Regions from separate parts of the Homo sapiens genome. Here region 2 is linked to region 1. Evidence: promoter capture Hi-C in human tissues and cell types (Jung and others, 2019). All regions are on one chromosome and are shown on one strand. Each heading gives the region's core, a stretch centred on a gene start or on the middle of the fragment in contact. The rest is flanking DNA. Distances are from core to core; before and after follow the strand shown.

Region 1 (5,531 bases), core at 1-2,500:
CCTAATAAACACCCCCAACCTTCCCCCAACTCCTCTACCCCCGCCCCCACCCCGGCACTCACCATCCTTCAAGTCCATGTGTGACCTGATTCTTCTGGGAGGTGAGACAAGAGCTGAGATACAGAAACTGTCACACTGACCCTCTGCGCTTGCAAAAAGGCAGAGGGTCTATTGAGCTGGTTAACACTTAAGCCGTCAGCTGATGGTAAGGCTAAAAGAGCACACTGTAACACACGCCCATTTGGGCTCCGGGAATCACGGGATCCTGCCCCTGGACACTGCCGTGGGGCTGGAAGCCCAGCGCCCCAGCTTTTGCACCCTGGCTCCTGCACCCGTCCGTCTGCATGCTCCACCTCCCATAAGGGGTTTCAGCAGGCAGAGACCGAACACACGAGCCACAACCCTGTTGCACGTCCTGCAAAGGGCTGTGGGAGGGCGGGGGCCGGGAGGAAATCAGGGAACTCTCCTGTTTCATTGTCACAAGACTTGCAAGGCTTCCTTAAGAGAGGGGTACACTTCCCCACCCACTGACAGCAAGTTTTGACCAATAGAAAGTGAGCAGAACTGAGGCATGCGGAATGTGAGTTTGGAAAGCAGCTTGTGCCAGTCATGTACAGGAGCTAATTGTTAAATTTCCAGGAACTTGGCAAGCCACTTGTTGGACTGTTTGTAGCTTGAAATCGGCCATTGTGGGAGCATTTACATCATAGAAATAGCAAACACTACATATCTGGACTTCCCCCTTCTCCCTCAAAGTTGGTTTACCAGCCCAGCAGGGAGCATGGCCCAGAAAAGTTGACCTTTCAGCCTGGAGTGAAGAAAACTGGTGGAGTACTGCCAAAGCTCCCTGCAGCCACAGTAATTCGCTTGAGAAATGGACCTTTAAGCCACTGAGTTGCAGGGGTTGTTCGTTACCTGAGCATCATCTAGCCAAAGCTGGTACACCATGCTGGTGTTTTGGTGAACACCAATAAGCGCCGCCTTCATCTGTCCCAACCTAGGTTGGAGGGATTTCTTCCAATAACTTGTGACATCATGCGCCTACAGCCTGCAAAGATGCAAACCGCGCTCTGAGACTCAGGCCCGGGAATTCAGGTCTTGGAAGGTTAATGCAAAGTTGTAAAACAATAGTTACATTTCAACCACACTCAGCTATTGCGTCATCTTAAAACCCTGGCCAACACAAATCTGTCGCTCGCGATCCTTGGCGGTTTCAGAGCGACTCCCCTACCGCTTTCGGGCGAAGGCCACACGTGACGGCCCCCCTTTCCCCGCAGACGTGTGAATGCAGCGCTGTGTCTTTAAGGGGCACGCGCGGAGGTTTTCCGTCCGGGACAAAATGTCAGCGAGGCGCCTGGAGGGGGATCTACCATCTCGGACTCCCGACCCGCCGCCGGCTCCGGCCGCGTTTCCCGGGTAAAGGGGTGAGTGTGGGCTTCCAGACTCGGTGGCGAGGCGGGCTGGGCCGGGCAGCGGGGAGCGCAGGTGAGCAGCGACCGCGGACGCCCCTGCCGGCCTCCCTGGCACCCGCGCGGGGCGTGCCCTTCGCTGGGCTGCCCTTCTCCGGGCCGGCTGTCGCGACTGTGAGAAAGCAGGTGGGCCCGGGATTCTGTGGCAAGGCCCCGCTCACCGTCTTCCAGTGCCTCATTCTTGCTCCTTCCCTGCACTCCTCTTTCGACAAGCTTGTTCGGAATGTGGAAATTCGTCACCACTCTCCTGCTCTCCCTTTATTAAAGTTGTCTGATTACAGTCTTTTCACTGGGCAAGTGACTGGACGCCCTGCAGTGGGTTCTTTCTGTAACTGGGACTTGCTTGATGTCGCCCACTTTCGGAGGGAGAAAGCGAATGCAAGCCAAAAGCTTACACCAGAATCCCCACCCCTCCCCCACCCCTCATGGCCCCCAAACAAAAGAATTTTCCGCTCCTTTCGGAGTCCGCTGGAGCAGTTTCTGTGATTTCTTGCACGAACCAAATGCCCGAGGCTTAGCAAAGCAAAAACCCCCTTGAAGGAAAAAAATAAATACTTACCACTAGTCGAATTTCTAATGAGCCAAGACTACAAAGATAAGGTGTTTAAGAGAAACAGTTGTAGAAACAGCTTAATACATTGACCTAATTAGGGTAATTATTTTCTGCTGTTTTTATTCATATGCTGACACCTTTTGGAGGCAAGAATAGCTTGAGGCAGCCAAGAATAAAAAAAAAAGTAGACAGCAATACGTATTATAAAAAGACCAAAAGCCCAAGCCAGGTAATTCTCAATTTAAAAATTAAATTAAAAAAATCTTTGAGTCACAAAGGCCTTCAAAGTAGGGCAGCTTTAAATTCCTATAACTCAGATTAAATTATGCATTTTTACAAGATAAAATGGATCACCACCTTAATCTTTAGGACCATATCTATTAAGCAAAGTAATGCAGACCTGAAATAAAGGTCCACTTTAAGGGCAGAACACTTCACAATTTTCATTTTTAAAAGTGCATTAATAGAGAGAGAGAGTGCTTCTCTGCCTTTTAGCTAATGGTAGAAATATCTAAGAGTTTGGCTTATGCCATTTAGGAAACAACTCTGATTCACCCCTTAATTACCTGTGAGTCCAGTGTATTTTTTACAGTCCACATATAACCTTTTTCTAAATTTTTACACATTTTACCATTTATTCCCCAACTCAGGTTTTACAGTTTGGAGGCATTTTTACTTGTCTTTTAACTTCAGCTAAGCCTTCAGCCTGGTGATTCCAGACTAATTTTTCTAATTGTCTGGATCTCTTTATAAATAGATTAATATATGGCAGTAAACTAATATTTCAACAGAGATGGACGGATAACAGATGAACTGTGGTTTTCTTGACACTTCAGTTGTCAACTCTAATTACTTGTATTAATTATTATGCTCTGCTTTCATTAAAGTCACTGGTGGATGAAGTAAAAGAAAATGTTTTTAGTGTTTCCACATATGTCTGTGTGAATTTCACGTTAGTGTGAATTTCTCATCTAAGATCCAGGCTCAACCAACATATATTGATTTAAACTCTGCCTGGTCAACCCAACTACAGTAAGTAGCCTTGAGTATAGAAGGACAAATAGAGGTGTAGTTAATCTGCTATGTCCTTTTGAGAACAGTGCCTGGTTCTTTGGCCTTTAGCCTGCCAAATATTTTTTATGTGCACAAGCATAAGTATAAAATAATACAATCAACTTTTGTAGGTGCTTTATAGGATGAGTCTCAATATTATAGTCATACCTTGTGTATATGCCCATGTTTATACAGATTATTCATCCAGGTTTTGATCTCTTCCTTTATTCTTTATATTGGTATTCAGGGACATCATACTGAGGAATCTGGGATTTAATCTGATAGTTCATCAGAAGGATAGAACTTCTTCAGAAATTGAGTCAAATGGAGAGATAATTAATGTGAATTTATTGTCTTCCACAGGCTTAGATTTAAGAACTCCTTCCAAATAATGGATACTCAAATGAAACTCAGCTATAGCAAGTGCAGAGGCATGGTACCAGCAACACTACTCTCTCTCCTTCCTTGAAATATCTAAAATCTACATTTGTCTTTTCAGTTTTTTTCACCCTGAAATTACACTCAAAAATTTCCACTGTTAATTTCATGTTAGCAGTGCTTTTATTTAGCTTCAAGAAACTTTCTTTTAAAATAGGAGCTTGGAAGCCTCGTTATACAACTGAGGAACTGGAACTTCATTAGAGTCGAGTACTAAGGGTAATGTGTTTTGGTGATGGACAACAATGCGTTTGTGCCCTGTGGGGCATGGGAGGGGAAGGGATGCTGAACTGCATGAACTTTTGTGTTAGGGCCCCTAAGACATCAGCTCCCAGGAGCTGCCCATGCCCACCCCTTCCCCAGTGGAGATTATGTGACGGAATTCACCCGAAGGAGTGAGCACTGATTTCACCTTTACCACAGTGTGTTAGTAATCTGTTTTCGCGCTGCTGATAAAGACATACCCAAGACTGGGCAATTTATAAAAGAAAGACGTTTAATGGACTTAAAGTTCCACGTGGCTAGGGAGGCCTAACAGTCATGGCGGAAGGCGGAAGGCGAAAGGCACTTCTTACCTGGCTGCGGCATGAGCTATAATGAGGGTCAAGCGAAAAGGGCTTCTCGTTTATAAAACCATCAGATCTCGTGAGATTTATTCACTAGCACAAGAACAGTATGGGAGAAACCGCGCTCGTGATTCAATTATCTCTCACCAGTTCCATCCCACAACACGTGGGAATTATGGGAGTAGGATTCAGGATGAGATTTGGGTGGGGACACAGCCAAACCATATCACACAGGTATCAGAATTATTGTTGGAAGCATCTCTTTCCCAACCAGACCGTACGCTTCCTGAGGGCAAAGACTATGTGACGTTCCTCTTGGAATGCTTGGCAGAAAGCACGCACCTGACCTTAGCAGGTGCACAATGAGCATTTGAATGAGAGTTGGATGGAGTGAATGGATGTAAGCAAAATACTCATTCATTGGCATCTTTGTGTTAGTTTAAAAATTTTTTCAAGGAAAAATTAAGGGAGCTTTTTTCATTTTCTTATTAGCTAACCACAGAATTAATGATATGCATTCTCATTGGGTATTTGGTAAGGAAGAAACGCGTTATCACAGGGCTTTGGCTAATTAAACCTCCCCATTATCTTATTTTACCCTAGTGATAAATAACCTATTTTGCATGAAGTTCAATTTAGGAAGTGAAAATAAATTTAAGGGGTAAGGGTCTTGGATCTGTTACTCTTTTTTATTTGCTCTTTGTAGTCAATTCCCAAGGGGATTCCTCCAACTTAGACTACTTACTCTGTTGAATAACATAATGTCAGATGGAAAAACAACTGCCTTTTAGCCATTAAAATCTTAACGTGGGCATGTCTGAGCAGTAAATATCGGTAGTTTCTTTATTGTTCATGTCTTAAATTTATATAACACCGGAGAGTCCAACAGTGACATCATTTGCACTATCTATGATCTCAGCCACCTGTTTAGAGGCAAATAATCTTATTATTTCTCTTGACAGATGGGAAGATTGAGACTCGGGTGGGCTGGGGCTAAAGAAACAGAGTCAGGTTCACTTCACTTAATGCAGCATCCCCCAAGTGTCTACCCTGTGCCAGGGAGATGAATGGGATGAGCTCCTCTTCCATGACATCCTGGGTGTGAACACAGAATCTCCTTCTGCAGAGCACAGCAAACCACGTGACAATGAGCAGCCTCACATGCTGGGTTTCCTCCTCCAAGCGGCGCAGCAGTGGGCTTCCCCATGGGACTGTCCCACCAGCCTCCACAGTTAAGGCTGGGCTGGCCCTGCCTGAGCTCACATGCTTGAGGAGCCAAGGGTTGTTTTGCTTTTTTGTTTTTGTTTTTTGTTTTTCTGAGATGGAGTTTCGCTCTTACTACCCAGGCTGGAGTACAATCGTGCAATCTCGGCTCACTGCAACCTCCGCCTCCCAGGTTCAAGCGATTCTCCTGCCTCAGCCTCCCGAGTAGCTGGGACTACAGGCACCCAC
Region 2 (5,013 bases), core at 483-2,982, 150 kb before region 1:
CTTCTTTTAGTGGTTTACAAAGAGCCTAATCCCAAACAGCACTGGATCTCCACTATTTTGCTTTTTTGTTCATTTGAGCCTAACATTCTGCACAACTATTGTCCTTTGAAACATACTTTAAAACATGCTGATGTAGATGAAATATGTTGAGCTAATAACTGTTAACTTCTCTTTAAGCACGTTTGCTACTGATATTTGGCCACCTTTCTTTTCCTGTGCCTTCTGCCAGAACTAAGGACTCAGGGAGGTCTCTTGGAGAGCACTGGATACAGGCTGAGGGATACCAGTGAGGGGAAAATTGTAAACACACCACCAGTTTGGTAGTTCTTCCATTTCTGGCTGCCCTCCCAATCTACCTGTTACTATTTACTTTTCAAGGTTCTTAAATAATTGCTCCATGCATTCTCGCCAGGTTTTATAATTGCATTAAGTTGGAGAGAGAGAATGGAGTGCTTAATTCATCTTACCCCAAATTAGAAGCTCTGGATATTTTACAGGAGGCTCATCGGCATACACCTTGCGTGAATTTGGTGTTGGGACAAGTTAAGGAAGGATTTGAACCATGAGAAAGTTTTGCTGTTGTTTGTAGTAGTGGTGGGCAAGGCAGTGGATTTTTTCTGCTATCTTTTCCAGAGGCATTATAGCAGCTACAGCAGCTGTTCTTAAAATGATAACTTTAAAACTTTAAAGCAAAATTTGAAATGCAAGTTAGCCAGACACTTGTGGTTTCTTTAGCAAATCAATGCAGCTTTAATATTTTCCCAGAGAAATAATCTGATGGCCAACGTGAACTTTGCTTGAAGAACACATGATCTCATGAGAGAGGGAGGAATGGTGGCTGGGAACTGGCCTTGGCACCCAGACTTGGCCTCATCACTTAGTAACAGTGTGACCTTGGTCAAGCTACTGAACCTCTCTAACCTCTAATCCTTCATGTTGGTAAAATGGAGATAAGGATCATAGTGCTTATAGGACAGGATTGCTGCATGATTCAGTGAGGTAATGCACATCATGCTCTTCATGTGGTGCTCAATAAATATTAGTAACTATTCTTACTATGATTGTTTTTGTGCCATAAGTAAAATGATTATGCCTGTTTACCTCCTCAAATTACTTTAAATCTGTTGAAATATGTGACGTCTTATCATTCTTCTCTCAATATCTGAGTTCACATTAAACATCAATTAAGGTTCTTTCTTCAGATTCAAGAGCAATACACTTTGAACTATGATATCTCCAGTAGTCAAAGCATTTGAATACATATTTGACTATAATGATGAGTTACTCCCAATACTTGCCGAAGAAAAGCAATGAGGTGTGCGTGCTGAACTGACAGTAAGTGTATCAACCAGTTTTCCGGATGTTTTATTCAAAAGCCACTCTTCCAAAAATGCTATACTAGTGAGTGCTCTAGAAAAAGAACTCTTTTCATTTGGCTGCTGTCTCCCTTGTTGATTGCAACTCCTGTTTGCAACTGTCTCACTTTTTCTCCTTTATCCCTCATTTTTGCACTAAAAAAATTCACTATGTGTTACTAAAATGAATAGCAATCTGGTCACTTCCTAGGAAGTTTTGTAAACATGCTTATTTAGGAAAACGCTGCTTAGTTGCAACTACGTATTATTCAAAAGGTTAATTCAACATTTTATCCCTCTGTATTTGGAAACCTGTATTTGAAAGACAAAATAATTTTATTTTATGGAAATGCAAATCAGAAAGCTTCTTGGAGGTAAGAGTTATGTATTTTTCTTTCTTTATTTCCTTTCACAACACTTATTGCATAAAATGGGTACTGAATAATTGTCAGCTTAGTTAATTTCAATTTGAATGTGTTTGAATAATTAGTGTGGGTATAACACTTTAAATAGCATATTTTACTGAAAAGATATTAATAGCTAGCCCTAGTGATGGAGAAGATGTTGGCATAGGATTATCTGACTGGTGACAAGGCAGATGTACACTAGGTTATCTTATGGTTTCTACTTTCTTTCTACATGAGTAGAATCCTGTCTACGAGACCTCCTGTGACCTCGGAGTTTTAATTAAAATTTAAATTGCCCTTGGCCGGGCGCGGTGGCTCACGCCTGTAATCCCAGCACTTTGGGAGGCCGAGGCGGGCGGATCACGAGGTCAGGAGATCAAGACCATCCTGGCTAACACGGTGAAACCCCGTCTCTACTAAAAATACAAAAAAGTAGCCGGGCGCGGTGGCGGGCGTCTGTAGTCCCAGCTACTCGGAAGGCTGAGGCAGGAGAATGGCGTGAACCCGGGAGGCGGAGCTTGCAGTGAGCCGGGATCGCGCCACCGCACTCCAGCCTGGGCAATAGAGCGAGACTCCATCTCAAAACAAAACAAAACAAAACAAATTTAAATTGCCCTTTCAAAAAACTCTCAATTGAATGACTAAAACGAAATACAAAAAAAAAAAGCTTCATTTTAACTTTTGTCTTGTGCTGTTACTGGAGAGCTTGTTGAAAAGGAAGGATCACAGAAAAAGTACTGATGAAGGAAGCAAAACACTTAAACTTAGATGCACTTGGAGAGACTGACGTCGAAGGGTTAGGGTTGCTGCTGTGTTTTTCTGCTCAAGGACCCCCTATAAAACATTGTGTTCCCAGGGGATAATGGACCAGGAGCAGCTATAAACAAACATGCTTTAAAAGCCACCCAAGTAGAAGAGCATTCTGGAGAGACAAGCCTGGGTTATTACAAGAATGAAAGCTCTGAACAGGAAGGTGTTTAACCTCATCTAAGATCTTACAATACAGCTAAAGCTAGAGGAGCCCATGTTTGTTAGAAAGATGTGTGGAAAGTTTTAAAGTTACATAAGCATAAGAGATTGGAATTGGATCATGTTCATCAAAAGTGTGGATTTCGATTTCAGAAAGGTTAGATGTTATTTTCCACACTAAAATTATCCAGTAAAGGAGAGAAAAGATTGGTGTTGTTTATTGTACAAAGAATTAGAGAAAAGAAAGGTGGCCAGATATCAGTAGCCCCAGGGAACTTGAAAATACCAAGAGATTGCAAACAAGGAAGTGCTTGGAAAATCGAAGCCATAGGTTGTTTATGTACTGCTAGCATCACCTCCAAGCTGCATATATATGGATCTAACACTAAAAAGCACATTACAGAGAACTAAATTATGAGACAGATCACTTTTCAGGTCACAGACTGGCCACTGGGTGGCATACACATGGGACATATTCAAAGAGCATTGAAAAGGCTTTAAAAATGTAATTGATATAACCACAAAAGAAGGCTGACTAGAAATTGTGGTCTGAACCCAACAGGGTTGATTCCCTGCTAAAACGGAAATATCAAGATTCACCATAAGATTTAATCAAGATACAAAGTCTTATAATCAATCTAAAATTCCTGGACATAAGAACCAGGAAAATTACAACTTGCATGGGACAAGATAATTGACAGATGTTGTGATGATTAATTTTATGTGTCAATTTGACTGGGCTAAGGGATGCCTAGATAGCTTTTAAAACATATCTGAGTGTATCTGTAAGGATGTTTCTGGGAAAGATTAGCATTTGAATTAGTAGACTGAGTAAAGACATTCACCTTCACCAAGTGGGTGGACATCATACAATCTGTTGAAGGCCTGAAAAGAACAAAAGGGCAGAAGAAGGGCAAATTCATTCTCTCTTCTTGAGCTGGCACATTCATCTTCTCTTGCCCTTGGCCATCAGTGCTCCTGGTTCTCTGGCCTTTGGACTCGTACTAGAATTTACACATTGACTCTGCTGGTTCTCAGACCTTCAGATTTGAACTAGAACTGCACTGCCAGATTTCTCAGGCCTCCAGGTTGCAGATGTCAGATCATGAGAATTCTCTGCCTCCATAACTACATGAGCCAATTCCTTGTAATAAACCACTTTCTGTATATCTATGTGTATCCTATTGGTTCTGTTTCTATGAAGAGCCCTCAGTAATATAGATGTCAACACAAAAATGACAAAGATGCTGGAATTATCTGACAAAGACTAAGCAATTATTATAAAAAATTCCAATAAGCAAGAGTTAACACTTGAACCAACTGGAAAGATTTAAAGTCTCAGCAAAGAATAGAAGATATAAAAAAGAATCAAATGAAAATCTGATGACTAAAGGATAGAATAACCAAAATAAAAAACCAACTGGATAGGCTCAATGTTAGAATGATTGAAGAAAAGAATCAGTGAACTTTGCACATGATTCAATACAAATTATCCAATCTGAACAAAAGAGAAAAGACTGAACTAAAAAAACAGAGTCTTAGGAACCTGAACAATAACAAAAGGTCTTAAAATCATGTCATGGAATTTCAGAAAGAGAAGACAAAGAAATATTTGAAGAAATAATGGTTGGAATATTTCCAACTGTGGCAAAAGTCATAAACCTATATATTTAAGAAACTTAGCAAACTCAAAACACGATAAACTCCAAGAAATCCATGTCCAGAAACATAATCAAACTACTGAAAACTAAAGATAATGAAAAATTCTTGAAAGCATCCAAAGAAAATGGTACACTATTTACAGGGGGACCATAATTCAAATGACTAAAGGTTTCTCACCAGAAACCATGGGAGACAGAAGGTAGTGAAATATCATCTTCAAAGTCCTGGGGTGGGGGGAACCTGTTCACTCAGGATTCTATATTTTATGAAAATATTCATAGGGAATTAAGGTAAAATAAAGACATTCTCAAATGCAGAAAAGACTTAAAAATCAGTTGTCAACAGACCTGCTCTAAAAGAATTCTAAAGAAAAGCTTTCAGATTAAAGGAAATTGATACTAGGAGAAAACTTGGAACATCACGAATGAAGGAAAAGCAATAGATTGTAAATATTTGGGTAACTATAGTAGATTATTCTTCTCTTGAATTCTTTAAAGTATGTTTGACAGTTGAAAGAAAAATTTATGACATGGCCTAATGGAGTTTTCAATGTACATATAACTAGTATATAAAATAACTATGAAGAAGATTGGATAAAAAAGACACACATGAAGATTTCT

Evidence for each region. Contacts are between HindIII fragments. The study calls those that stand out against the background at their distance.
Region 2: a fragment that was not itself captured here is called in contact with the fragment with the promoter of ZBED3 in region 1 in 1 of the 25 tissues and cell types used here (hippocampus).

The regions. Positions count from the first base shown.
Region 1 is chr5:77,083,004-77,088,534 of GRCh38, reverse strand. It overlaps ZBED3 (zinc finger BED-type containing 3), which reads left to right and starts at 1,250. Exons shown (of 3, transcript NM_032367.4): 1 at 1,250-1,424. ZBED3-AS1 (ZBED3 antisense RNA 1) reads right to left here and starts at 1,820. Exons shown (of 3, transcript NR_182763.1): 1 at 916-1,820. It also overlaps a transcript of PDE8B not described here. RefSeq lists enhancers at 1-387, 388-990, 991-1,592 and a silencer at 1,409-1,578. The HindIII fragment of the contact is 7,057 bases long and covers 1-5,122 here.
Region 2 is chr5:77,237,502-77,242,514 of GRCh38, reverse strand. The region is part of intron 1 of PDE8B (phosphodiesterase 8B); the gene reads right to left. Among named protein-coding and RNA genes, the nearest start is that of PDE8B, 29 kb to the right of the region's middle. The HindIII fragment of the contact is 3,733 bases long and covers 1-3,598 here.